Regions from separate parts of the Homo sapiens genome. Here all the other regions are linked to region 1. The links are contacts of gene promoters, found by promoter capture Hi-C in blood cells and fetal thymus (Javierre and others, 2016). All regions are on one chromosome and are shown on one strand. Each heading gives the region's core, a stretch centred on a gene start or on the middle of the fragment in contact. The rest is flanking DNA. Distances are from core to core; before and after follow the strand shown. Region 1 holds the start of KAT6A (lysine acetyltransferase 6A). Region 2 overlaps HOOK3 (hook microtubule tethering protein 3). Region 3 overlaps GOLGA7 (golgin A7).

Region 1 (4,576 bases), core at 1,027-3,526:
TTTTTTTTTTTTTTTTTTTTTTTTTTTTCCTGGAGGTGATTTCATTACAAACAGGGACCATTTTACCTGAGAATGTGTCTATCTGATTCATCTAGGATGAAAGAGATCCTTTCTATTGGATTATCATGTATTCCAAATTTCTCTACTGCTTTGGAGATGGGGCTTGGAAGTAGGCGATGAATGGCAACTCAGTCAACCTCACTACATTACACTTCTGTTTCTGTCAGTGTCAGGATATTGATTAGGCTGGACCATGATCTGAAAAGTTACGTTATTCTTACTGAATGGTCCAGAGTCTACCGTATGGAGGGTAGGGCTATGGATTAGAGTGGAGACGGGATAGATAGAAAAGTTTGGGTTCCCTCTTGCTGTGTCTCTCAGGCTGGAGTGTAGTGGCGATCATAGTTCACTGCAGCCTGGAACTCCCGGGCTCAAGCAGGCCTCCCGAGTAGCTGGGCTACAGCAGCGCCCCGCCACAAACGGCTTTCTTAACGGCTTAAAAAATTGTTCATTCACGAGCAACATTTTTTTATTTTAAACCGCCTACTACAGTACTTGTACAACATTATTCTAGGTGCTGGAGATGCAGAGTCATTATAGGAGAGCATTTACCAGTGAATGTATTCGGAATATATATATATATATATATATATCACATGTAAGTGCAAAATGACTAGAGCAAATGATACTACTACAGAAGTTCAGAAAAGGAAGTCAGCATGGAAGTTAAGGCAGTGGGTGAGAGGGAGGCCCTTAAAAGCTAAAGCTGAGATAAAATGAGGTATTGCGGGCGACAGTCTAGGCGGGGTGTGTCGTATGGGGTTGGGGACAGGGCAGATAAAGGTCAGGCAGCAGGATACACGTCCATGTCAACGATTAAACATTTAGTGTCTTTTTCATGTCTACTGTCTTTCTAGTGAATGCAGAAAAAAAAAAAATGCATGACTTGGCCAGGTGCAGTGTCTCAGGCCTGTAATCCCAGCACTTTGGGAGGCCGAAGAGGGCGGATCACTTGAAGTCAGGAGTTCGAGACCAGCGGCCTGGCCAACATAGTGACACCCCGTCTCTACTAAAAATACAAAAATAAGCCAGGCGTGGTGGCGGGCGCCTGCAGTCCCAGCTACTCAGGAGGATGAGGTAGGAGAATCGCTTGAACCCAGGAGACGGAGGTTGCAGTGAGCCAAGATCGCACCACTTGCACTCCAGCCTGGGCAACAGAGCGACACTGTCTCAAAAAAAAAAAAAAAAGTATGACTCAGTCTCTGCATCAAAGAGTTTAAAGTAGATGAAAGGCAAGACAAAGAAACGTCCATACAGCCAGTAGTGGACAGGCAGGCCATGAAGAACCGCCTGCTCGTGGTTCCAACGCCCTAAGTATGGACAAGAGTTCCGCACAGGGCAAGAAGGGAAGACCGGCTTTGGAATAAGACAAATCTCAGTCCCAGGCTCAGGTGCGCGCCACATACTAGCTGTGTGACCTTGTCCAAGTCACACGACCCAGGTCTGTGGAGTCTCCCATAAAATGGCTCTAGTGAGCTCCAAGAACCCTCTCAGCTGCTGGGGGAGGGAAGAAATGAAGTCACTGCTGAAAGGGGTTAAGACGGGTGCTTCTGGTTCCACCCTCTCCCCAACTCTTCCCACCGACACAGGAGAGCCGTCGGGGGCTGAGGCGAGCTGCCAGGGGTGAGGACGGGAAGCCGCCTCCTCTCCGCCCCCCAGGCCCCGCCCTCGGGCTCCGGAAAGTCGCTGTGCAGGCAAATGAGTGGGGAGGGAGGGCTCACTAACTGTAAACAGACGCCGCCGAGAGTTCCCATCCTGCGTGGCTGCCGGATTTCCGTGCCACACTGAAGCCACCCCACCCAGACTCCTGCCCTCAGTTTCCCCAGCGGTGGCATGGGGTGCACCAGCTCCTCCTCTCCCGGGTCGCCGTCTGACTTAAACGCGTGAGACGGGAGAGGAGGAACCCCCGCTCCCCAGCCTCCAGCCCCACCAAGTCCTCCTCCTCCCCTGGCTTTGGCCTTTTGTACCGGCCCCACGTGACCCCGCCGGCCGGCTCTTCCCTGCTGCCCCGCCCCGCCCTCCGGCCTTTCCCGGCTCTCGGCCCAGCTCTTCCCGCTCTCGGCCGCCCCCCACCCGCGCTGCCGGGCCTCCGCCTCCCCTCGCCGCCCGCCCAGGCTCTTCCAGCTCCCTCCCCCAGGCCGCCGTTCCCTCGCGACGCTCCCCTCCCCCCGCGGCTGTTCCGCCGCCTTGCCTCCCCTCCCCCCGGCTGGAGCTCACTGTCTCCAAGATGGCGGCCGTGTCAGTTTGGGGCATCTCCGCGGTCCGGCCCGGGGCCCCGGGATCTCGGCTGTCCTTCCTCCCGGTAAGTAGCCGAGGGGCCGTTCCCGGCCGCCCCCGGCCGCCCAGCCCGAGGCCGAGCCGCTCCAGGGCCCACTCCGCTGCCTCGCGGGGTCGGCGGGCCGCTGCAGGCCCCGCCGCGGCCTGCGCCGCCTCCCGCTGCTCTGCGCCAGGCCTCGGGCTGGGGCGCCGTGGCCGCCCCCTCGCGCCCGCCCGCTCGCTCGCTCGCTTGCTCGCTTGTTCGGCGCCCGGCTGCCCCGGCCCGCGGCCCGCGCGCCGCCGCCCGGCCCCGCGCTCGCGGGCCCCGCGCCCCCGATCCCGCCGGCCGGGCCCGCCCTGGGGGAGCCGGCGGGTGGGCGGGCGGCGAGCGGCCCAGGCCGCGGAGCCTCGGGCTGGCGGAGCCGGCGAGCCCGCTCTCCCTCGGGGCGCGCCCACCCGCCCGCCGCGCGCGTGCCGGCTGTGCCGGGCCGGGCCGCTTCTCCCCGCGCTCGCGGGCGCTCGGGTTCGGGCTCGGGCTCGGGTTCCGGCTCCGGCTTTGGCTCCGGCCGGGGGCGCGGGGATCCGAGCGGGGCTGAGGCGGCGAGCGGGGCTGACAGGCCGGCGGGTGTTGTGGTGCGAGGCGCAGCACGTGTGGTGTTGTGTCTGCCGGGCTGTCAGCCCAGCCGCCGAGGGGAGGCCGGGCGCCTGTCAACCTCGCGGCTTGGCCCGGTGCGCGACTGTCAGGCTCCCAGCAACCCGCGCCGCCCTCGAGCCGGCCCCCAGAGCTTAGGGTGCGGAGCTGGGCCGGGGCTATGCACCGCTCTGAACTCCTTCACGTGATTTCATTGTTAACTTGTGCTCGGGGTCTGTTTCCATCGCGTGGAAACGGTGCAGCGCCCCGTCGGCGAGCTGCCGGGCTGTGCAGATCCAAGTTTTTAAAGTTTCTCGCTCTTTGAAAAGAGAGCGCGAAGACGTGTTTAGGGGTGGGGAATGGGGACGGGAAGGACTGTCGGAAGCGAGTTGCGCTCGCTCTAGCCGCTCGTGTACTTTCCGGGAGTTAAGATCCGAGGCTGCAGGCGCTTGACTTTCCGAAGACCTGGAGACTGATGACAATCCCGACTGGAAAGACAATGAGTGACTGTCACTCATTCTTTTACCTGCGAAGCTTAGTCAATTAGGACGTTCGTTCCCAGCTTGTTAAACTCAGGATGTAGCTTCTCATTTAGTTTAGACTTAATATCTGTATAATGAGCTTACTTGGAGTAATGATACTCTGATTTCTATCCTCTTGAGACCCTCACCAAATTGAAGCATGATTCTCCCAGGGGGCTTCTTTTTAGGCAGCTGATTTAAAAACAAATCTTGGCTCAGGTTTGAATGTTTGCTTCACTCTTTTCTTTCCTATCAGAGTTAATAGTAATATCTCTTTCCTAGTGTGTATTAGTTTTCCGTTTGATTTTAATGTCACTACCAAGAATAGTTGCTGTGGGAGCCATTTGTCTAGCATTGTTTATATTGTAATGCAAATGATCTCCAGAATGAGAGCAGAAGTTCTAAAAAACACTTCAGTTAAACTTATTTTTGGAGGCAAAAGAGTTAGATTCAGAATTCAGTACTTTAGTGATTAAACAAGATTGCATCTACCAGATTCTTTTATAGGGATACTGACTTTGATTCAGAGAGACAGTACATTTCTGTTTATGTTTTATTAATGTTCGTTTCAGGACAGCAATCTTGAATTTATATCTTTATTATTTGGGCTTCTCTTTAGTCCTACAAGTAGCCAGTGTATTTCTTTTTCTGTACCGTCCGTTTGATATGTAGTATGTGCGTTGACCCCAGTGATTCTGGGCCTTCCTCATTTCTAGTTTTCCTGTCTGAATTACTTACACGCAGTTTGACAGTTGTGACTCTCTTCAGCATATGAATAGAAACATCTTAGTTTGGGTTAGGAGAAGCTATCAGCATGTAATTCTTAAAATTTGAATGAAAGTGGATTATTGTTAAATTCAGTAAGCACTTTTACTCTAGGCTATTTTCAATAGTATTTTTGTTTCCATTAGGAGAGATTAAGGTAATACTGTACTTAAATTATAAACTGGGTGTGCATATTGTATTCATTCTTTTCATGTAAGAACTAAAATTTTCTCAGTCGTTTTCTGCCTTATTGACTGTTTTTGTCTACTCTGAATGTCTAGAATTTTGAAAGATGAAAGATTCACTTTTACTTTCATTGCAGGATTCTTTCTACTAATCCAGA
Region 2 (4,576 bases), core at 557-3,056, 850 kb before region 1:
TATGTGAGATGAATTCATTTATTCTTTACATCTGGTGAGGTTGCAGTTTCTGTTACTCGGAGGCCAAATATCTTTACACAGATGTAGAAGTCACACTTAGAATGGTTAGGTTAGATATTCACTTCATTTTGATTTCAAATATATTCTGAAACTTTGTACTAATCAACATGATGTAGCCAAGAAATGTACTTTCCCTAATAGTATAAATTCTCTCTCAAAGTAAGAAAATGTAGCTGAGCCAGCTACCCAGTAGTGTACTCAGGATTTAGACGGAAATCAATCCCTGAGAACAGACAGACACAGGCCATCCTCTCATAGAACTTACAACTAGGAAAAATGAAACAGTATAATAGAAGTGTCAACAGCAGGCATAAAGATGAGAAGTGAGAGTGGGATGCAATTTAGGTATGAAGAGCAGCTTGGTACAGATCGAGTAGGGGTAAGAATTGGAGGAAGAAACAGAACAGGGGAGAATTAAAACGGTGAAAGACAGGGCAAAAAACTGAAGAATTAACATGTAAAACCTTAGAAGCCACATTAGGACCTTATTCTATGAATAAAGTAAGCAAAGGATTTGAACCAGGGGAGTGAGCCATGAGGTTTGCATTGTATTAATATAAGATCTGGCCGGGGGCGGTGGCTCATGCCTGTAATCCCAGCACTTTGGGAGGCGGAGTCGGATGGATCACGAGGTCTGGAGATCAGAACCATCCTGACTAACACAGTGAAATCCTGTCTCTTCACTAAAAATACAAAAAATTAACCAGGCCTGATGGCACACACCTGTAGTCCAAGCTACACTGGAGGCTGATGCAGGAGAATCGCTTGAACCCGGGAGGCGGAGGTTGCAGTGAGCCAAGATCATGCCACTGCACTCCAGCCTGGGCGACAGAGCGAGACTCCGTCTCAAAAAAAAAAAAAAAAAAAAAGATCATACCGGCTGCAGTATGAAGGAAGGAGTGGAGGGAAAGAGACAGGAAGACCCATTTGAGTAGGTTTATATACTAACACGGATGAAGCTAAACTCAGTACAGACAATGAGAATACTGGGAATAACACTCAGGTGACCATATGTCTTCACACAAATTTTTATTTATTGGGTTAGAAAAGAAGTAAAACTGCTAGGTCAAAAAGTGTATGAACATTTTACGGTTTTTGATAAAACTGTCAAACTGCCCTAAATATATACTGTAGCAATTTATTCTCTTACTAACGGTGGGTGAGTGGCTACTTCTCCGCACCGTATCATTTATCAAATCTTTTTGTTTTGTTTTGTTTTTCAGACGGAGTCTCACTCTGTCGCCCAGGCTGGAGTGCAGTGGCGCGATATCGGCTCACTGCAAGCTCCGCCTCCCGGGTTCACGCCATTCTCCTGCCTCAGCCCCCCGAGTAGCTGGGAATACAGGCGCCCGCTACCATGCCCGGCTAACTTTTTTGTATTTTAAGTAGAGACAGGGTTTCACCGTGTTGGCCAGGATGTCCTCATCTCTGACCTCGTCATCCGCCCGCCTTAGCCTCCCAAAGTGCTGGGATTACAGGCGTTTGAGCCACCACGCCCGACCTCATTTATCAAATCTTTAAAAGACAACTATTGGCCGGGCACGGTGGCTCATGTCTGTAATCCCAGCACTTTGGGAGGCCGAAGAGAGTGGATCACGAGGTCAGGAGATGAGACCATCCTGGCCAACACGGTGAAACCCCGTCTCTACTAAAAATACAAAAAATTAGTCGGGCGCTGTGGCGGGCGCCTGTAGTCCCAGCTACTCGGGAGGCTGAAGCAGGAGAATGGTGGGAACTCGGGAGGTGGAGCTTGCAGTGAGCCGAGATCGCGCCACTGCACTCCAACCTGGGCCACAGAGCGAGACTCCGTCTCAAAAAAAAAAAAAAAAAAAAAAAAGACAACTATTAACAGTACAGTCAGTAGCTTCTTTGTATATAATACAGGAGAGTTTTGCAGGTAGAGACGGTTATGGTGGTAGAGGCCCAGGGAATTATCTTAAAGATCCTCATAGCAAGTTTTTACTTAAGTGTCTATTTGGGAAAGCTGATAAGAGGATCCTTCCAAGCTGCCCTGACACAAACCAAACACCTGGTAGAGGTGCAATAAATGATTAGTAAATGAATACATGAAACAAATAAACACCATCTGCGGGAACTGATTTTGAATTTTACTCCATACTATCTCCAGCTGCCTGCTCATTAGTAAAAGAAATAAGCACTTAAAAGAAATAAGCACTTGCTTCCATTCTACAGTTGCCAAGTCAATGGCCCATTTTCAAAAAAGAAAACCCAATCTTTCTTGTAGGTTTGTTTAGAAGGAAAAATAGAGGCAGCAGTGAGGACTATGTCTCATTCTTCTCTTTATCACTGACCTCAGCACAATGCCTGATACGAACAAGCCCTCAGTGGACGCCACTTTGAATGAAAGGAGCTAATTCTAATCCCTAGTTTTGCCCTGTAAATTTAGACAGGATGTTTCATCTCTCTCAATATCAGTTTTTCCATATAAAGAAAGATTGGGGAAAAATAGCCTATAGAAGGGTGTGTTGCTTCAGAATGAATGAGAAAATGAATGCCCATGAGGTATTTTGCAAAGTCTAAAGCAATGGTCCCAAACCTGGTGTGTAGGGGAATCATCTGGGGGGGTTTGAAAATACACATTTTGGCAGGGCGTGGTGGCTTATACCTGTTACCTCAGCACTATGGGAGGTCAAAGCTGGAGGATCACTTGAGCCCAGGAATTCGAGACCATGCTGAAAAACATGGCAAAATTCTGTCTCTACAAAAAATACAAAAATTAGCTGGGTATGGTGGGTCACGCCTGTAGTCCCAGCTATTCAGGAGGCGGAGGTGGGAGGATCACTTGAGCCTGGGGGGTCGGGACTGCAGTGAGCTGTGACTGCTCCACGGCACTCCAGCCTGGGCAACAGAGTGAGACCCTGTCTTAAAAAAAAAAAAAGAGAGAGAGAGAGAGAATACACATTTCTTGGCTCCCCCTACTGAATCAGAATCTGTGTGTAGGAAGCTGGGGATCTATTTTTAACAAGTTCATCAAATAATTCTTACACAGCTGGGCACTGGTTTGGCATTTGGAATCCTATGATCCAAAGCACTATGAAAGGGAAGGGATGCAAGATTGGAAAACAGCCTCTGGCCAATCAGAAGAAGCAACTCAACAAAGCAGGTAATTCAAAAAAGCAAGTAACTTAGTTGTTAAGACTTGATCTGGGCCTGGCACGGTGGCTCACGCCTGTAATCCCAGAACATTTGGAAGCCGAGGCGGGTGGATCTTGAGGTCAGGAGTTCAAGACCAGCCTGACCAACATAGTGAAACCCCGTCTCTACTAAAAAATACAAAAATTAGCCGGGCGTGGTGGTGCGTGCCTGTAATCCCAGCTACTAGGGAGGCTGAGGCAGAATTGCTTGAACCCAGGAGGTGGAGGTTGCAGTGAGCCGAGATTGTGCCACTGCACTCCAGCCTGGGCAACAGAGCAAGACTCCACCTCCAAAAAAAGACTTGATTTGTTTTTTTCTCTTGGGATTTAGGGAAGCTAAATTTTCATTTTTGTTTTTAAAACATGGCTTTATTCAATTATTTTCTCTGTATTAGCCCTTGAGGTACATAGTTGCTCATAAGGGTCAGAGATGTCCACCTCTGCTGCAAGACCAAAGTGAAACAGATCCTAAAGAAAATTTATCCCCTAGTTTATTTTTGGGGTGATGAAAATGTTCTTGGAACTAGATAGTCATGATGACTGCACAATCTTGTGATCATACTAAAAACCAAAAAAATTATACACTTTAAAAGGATGAATTTTATGGGTATGTAAACCGTACCTTAATTTTTAAAAATCTGTCACATACCAGTTCTCTGAGCTAACATCTATTTCAGGATAGCAGTACAATAAAACTGAAAGACAATTGCACTTAACTGCATTAAGGCATGAAACTCTACCTGAAGGGTTATAATCTTTCTTTTAATTCCAAGAAGCTCTATTACCACCACCCAACCTCTACCTCCCCCTCCCCAACAAAAGCATGAGAAGAGTAAAGCATGAGATCACCTGGAATTACTATCTCTAGAGCAATGGATAATTTTGCTCCCGAGGAGACATTTTTGGCTGTGAGTTGGGTGCTATTGTCATCTAGCTGGTTGAGGCAATGGGATGCTACTATTAAACATAGCGCATAGTGCAGTGCCCACACAGCAAAGAACTGTCCAGCGCAAAATGTCAAATAATTTTCTAGAGCCATGGTCCTCAAAATGTGGTCCCTATGTCACCAACAATGGCATCACCTGGGAACCTATTAGAAATACAAAATCTCAGGCCCAGCCCAGACCTACAGAACTAGCAACTCTGGGCATCTGTGTTTTAGCAAGCTCTCCAGATGATGCAGATCAACACTAAAGCATGAGAATCTCTGGTGAAGTTAGCAAACATAAAGTTAAATATCAATGCAATCAAAACACAGAGGTGAAGTTACAAAGTCACATCAGTTAGTATAGAACAAAACTAGGATTTGAACCCAGGCTGCCTAATGTCAGAACCTGTATGTACTCTTATGCTATACTATC
Region 3 (4,576 bases), core at 1,296-3,795, 560 kb after region 1:
ATATAAATAACTATACTTAAATATACCTGTTTATATGAGATGGAACAGGATGGTAATGAAGAATACAACAGCATTTTCAGCCAACAGCTCCAAAAACTTTAGCTGCAACTATATGCACTCTCCACTACATGGAGTGTAAGACATTTCTATCAGATGGGTCATAATATATTCTTATAGCATTTCGTTTTCTAAGCACTGTCAGAATTTAGTGATATACCAGGGGCTTACCATGATTAATTTACAGTCATTTATTTAACATACATTCAATGAGTGCCTGATATACCCAAAGCATGGTGTTAGGCATGAAGAGGGATACAAAATGGTTAAGGCATTGTCCTCAAGAAAAGTACATACTTGAAAGGCAAATAAGACAAGAAAATAAACTGCTACATTCCAAAGAAGAGTGAGGCAAGTGCCAGAAAACAGATACAAATAAAATGTTGTAGGGACACAAGAGAAGAGAAAGAATTCTGACTAAAACAGAGAACAAGTTAGATGGAAGTGAGACCTAAGGGACTGGTGGGATTTGAACCTGGGAAGATAGCATTCCAGGTGGAGGAGAACCACAGTGGGTATGTTTGCTGACCAGTGAGGGATGGAGTTTGGCTGAGGGAGAAAGTGAAGGAAGGAATGGGAGGTAGCGCTGGAAAGGTAAGCTGAGGTCAACTTGAGCAGGGCCTTGAATTTTACTCAGTGGTAAAACATGGGAATCCAGGGAAGGTCTCCGACTTGGCAGAAGTAGTAGGGGAAGTAAATCTGCGCTTTATAAAAACAACAGCAGATAGTTTAGAAAAGCAAAAGGAGGGAAGAAATGAGACAAGTCAGACTATTTCAATAGTCTAGGAGAGACAGAATAAGGGCATAACCCAGGATAGTGGCAGAGGAAATCACAAAAAGTTAATGACTGGGAAAATGAAAGATACTTCAGTCTTTGAAAACAGATTAATTTTTCCCTCTTCTTCATCCCTCATGCCCAAAGATGGTACTGAAAAGACAGGGGTGCTATTGACAAAATGGGGAGGTGGGAGGTTTGACTTCTGGTCATCTTAAGTTGAGAAATCAGCAATTCGGGAGCTAGTAGGCAGCTGGAAAGAGAAAGTAAGAACTCAGGTGGGAGAAGAGAGTGAAATTTAGGGAAATAAAGTAAAAACATTCCCAGAAAGCTGAGTAGGAAGAGAACATATAGATTTTCTACATTCTTCTTAAGTGTAGGCCAGTCTGAACATTGACACATCATCTGCAAGTGGACATACCAACTGCAACCTGTTTTGAAAGACTCAGGACTATGTGCCTCTGTACACAGGAACAACACAATTTGAATGATAAATGCCCCTAAATATTTTACGGCAACTATCACCATGTAAGCATCAATGTGTAATAAACTTGCCTTCTTCATGATTTTAAGAGATTTTTGTGAAAACAAATGTAGCATTACCTTCTCATAATGAGTTTCCATGCATAGGAAGATGGTATATGCTGTTAAACAAGCCAAACAACCTTCGAGATATGACTGGCCGCCGAGCTTCTCTGCTTCTGCATAAAGGTTATTTAGAGTTCGAACTGTTTCTTCAAACTGCTGCCTATCAATCTGTAGAGAAGAAAATATTTAAAAATTAAGTTTTGGAAAAAAAAAATCAACTAATGCATGCTATCATTAATTTATCTTGTTTTCTCACCATTCTTAGTTGACAATTTTTTTGGTGACTAAATCTGGGCCTAAGTTACCAAAACTGCTTAATTTGTTTAATTTTATCCCTCTTATAAATACTGGATAGCTTCAAGGCTCAATAAGGTACTTCTTTATTCTTTCTACTAAATTTCAAGTAACTTTAGGCTCTATTCCTCTTTCCATTCATTTAGTTTCACACTTACTGAGCGCCTACTATCAGATACTATGAAAAATCTCAAGATAAAGCACTGTCTCAATCCTTAAGAGTTTAATTATGCAAGCAGAACAGGCAATGTAAACATAAAAATGCAGTAAGCTGGCCAGGTGCGGTGGCTCATGCCTGTAATCCCAGCACTTTGGGAGGCTGAGGTGGGCGGATCACGAGGTCAGGAGATGGAGACCATCCTGGCTAACATGGTGAAACCCCGTCTCTACTAAAAATACCAAAAAAAATTAGCCGGGCATGGTGGCGGGTGCCTATAGCCCCAGCTACTGGGGAGGCTGAGGCAGGAGAATGGCGTGAACCCGGGAGGTGGAGCTTGCAGTGAGCCGAGACTGCGCCACTGCACTCCAGCCTGGGTGACAGAGCGAGACTCCGTCTCAAAAAAAAAAAAAAAAAAAAAGCAATAAACTGACAGGGTACTATCATATAGGCAAATATAAAGCCTAGTGGGGACACAAAAGCAAGGAGAAATTCCCTTTATCTGGGAAGGGCAGGTAATCTTAAATTGAGTAACTAAAGACTGGAATTTACTAGGCAAAAAAAAAAAAAATGGCATTTTAGCAGAAGGATCAAAAGGCGTAGGTTCTATATTCTGTTTACTCAGCCTATCTCTTTTGAAGCAATTATCTTGTTACTAAATAAGGTAAAATTTGTTAAGGTAAAATCTCAAGCTAATAAACAATTTTTCACATTAAGTCATTCTTATTACCTCTTTCTATTTGGTGACACCATTATCTTAAATTTACACTAATACTACCACAGGTTGAGCATCCCTGATCTTAAATTCTGAAGTCAGAAAGGCTCCAAAATCTGAAACTTTTGAGCACTGACATGATACCACAAGTGGGAAATTCCAAACCCGACCTCATGTGAGGGGTCACAGTCAAAATGCAGGCGCACAACACATAGTTTATTCAGTGTCCCCAAGAGAAAAAGACCCTTCCAGCCCCCATCAGCTGCCATGTATCTTTTCCATGCACAGCCAGATTCTCCCATGCAAGCGTGCTCACAAAGGGTGATAAGATGGTTCAGTGTACACACACTTTGTCTCATAAAGTCATTTAAAATATTGTATAAAATTACCTTCAGGTTATATGTATAAGGTGGATATAAAACATAATGAATTTCGTGTTTAGACTTGGATCCCATTCCCAAGATATCTCATTAGTATAAACAAATATTTCAAAATCTAAAAAAACCCCAAAAACTGAAATACTTCTGGTTCCACATATTTCACATAAGAAAGAACCTGTACTGTCATCCATTGTTTCACTCAATCATCTGCTTTTACTTTATTCTTCCAATATTACTTTACTGTCTTCTAATAGTACTTTGTATAACAGATTTCAAATTTTGCTACTTCATCCCAGGACTTTCAAGGCCCATTAGGAGAGCAATCATCCAATACTGCCATTCTTATCTGTCTGCACTCTAGGCCTTCTCTCGCATAAGGATTCCCTTATTTCTAAAATTAATAACTACTTACGTATGAATTCTCTCTTTTATGAAGTCCTTATTTAAAAGACTTTTTTGTTTGGCTTTTTTTTTTTCTCCTTTCCTGTCTCTGTGAACCTATTAAATCTTTCTTTATAATAGAAACCGACTCAGAAAAAAAAAAATCAGGCTGGCGTGGTGGCTCATTCCTGTAATCCCAGCACTTGGGAAGTTGAGCTGGGTGGATCACTTGAGCTCAGGAGTTTGAGACCAGCCTGGGCAACATGGTGAAACTCTGTCTCTACTAAAAATGCAAAAATTAGCCAGGCGTGGTGGTGCATGCCTATAGTCCTAGCTACTCAGGAGGCTGAGGTGGGAGGATTGCTGGAGCCTGGGAAGTGGAGGTTGCAGTGAACTGAGATCTCACCACTGCACTCCAGTCTGGGTGACAGAGTGAGACCCTGTCTCAAAAAAAGAAAGAAAGAAAAAAAACCCTCAACATACAGTATGAGCCCTACTATTCACTATTCCCAAGAATGTAATCTTTTTTTTTTTTTTTTTTTTTTTTGAGACAGAGTCTCACTCTGTCACCCTGGCTGGAGTGCAGTGGCGCAATCTTGGCTCACTGTAACCTCTGGTCCCAGGATCAAGTGATTCTCGTGTCTCAGCCTCCCGAGTAGCTGGGATTACAGGCGTGCACCACCATTCCCTACTAATTTTTGTATTTTTAGTAGAGACGAGGTTTTGCCATGTTGCCAGGCTGGTCTCAGGCTCCTAGCCTCATGTGATCCACCCCCCTGGCCTCCCAAAGAGCCACCTGCACCTGGCCTCAAGAACATAATCTTTTAAAGTGTAAAACAATTCATGACCATCCTTAAGCTATGACAACTCTTTAAGTTAGAAGCAGTTGTAGTCATTGTTTTGTCCGTTGTGTGGAAAATGTGAGGAGTCAATGGGCTAGTGGCATGCATGAATTTAATGCAAACTTTAAAGTGGTGTTGGCTCTACCCATTTTTCAAAAGGAGTTACTTTAAATTTCCAGGAATATTAGAGATTTGGACAAAGGCTAGGTGGGTCAAGACGGCCTTTAAACGCAGGGGCAGTGTTTCTTCACTGAGCTACCCCTTGTAGATGTGGTGTCAAGGCTGGTCATCTGGGAAACTGTGAGTTCTCATTCACGAAAACAGACTGAGGAGAGCTCAGCAAACAAAAATGGTAAGCTGTTACGTTCACCTAATTATGCCTACGTT

Evidence for each region. The method cuts DNA at HindIII sites, captures the fragments that hold promoters and counts their contacts. A CHiCAGO score of 5 or more calls a contact.
Region 2: a fragment that was not itself captured here is called in contact with the fragment with the promoter of KAT6A in region 1 in 1 of 17 cell types (fetal thymus); the score reaches 6.5 in fetal thymus.
Region 3: a fragment that was not itself captured here is called in contact with the fragment with the promoter of KAT6A in region 1 in 1 of 17 cell types (neutrophils); the score reaches 8.0 in neutrophils.

The regions. Positions count from the first base shown.
Region 1 is chr8:42,049,687-42,054,262 of GRCh38, reverse strand. It overlaps KAT6A (lysine acetyltransferase 6A), which reads left to right and starts at 2,276. Exons shown (of 17, transcript NM_006766.5): 1 at 2,276-2,362. It overlaps KAT6A-AS1 (KAT6A antisense RNA 1), which reads right to left and starts at 2,513. Exons shown (of 2, transcript NR_136589.1): 1 at 2,278-2,513. RefSeq lists enhancers at 1,142-1,662, 1,663-2,184 and silencers at 1,633-1,792, 1,983-2,612, 2,713-3,182. The HindIII fragment of the contact is 5,822 bases long and covers 1-3,483 here.
Region 2 is chr8:42,900,660-42,905,235 of GRCh38, reverse strand. The region is part of intron 1 of HOOK3 (hook microtubule tethering protein 3); the gene reads right to left. Among named protein-coding and RNA genes, the nearest start is that of HOOK3, 6.0 kb to the right of the region's middle. The HindIII fragment of the contact is 6,491 bases long and covers 1-4,576 here.
Region 3 is chr8:41,494,521-41,499,096 of GRCh38, reverse strand. GOLGA7 (golgin A7) reads right to left here. Exons shown (of 5, transcript NM_001002296.2): 2 at 1,436-1,588. Among named protein-coding and RNA genes, the nearest start is that of GOLGA7, 6.2 kb to the right of the region's middle. The HindIII fragment of the contact is 6,770 bases long and covers 1-4,576 here.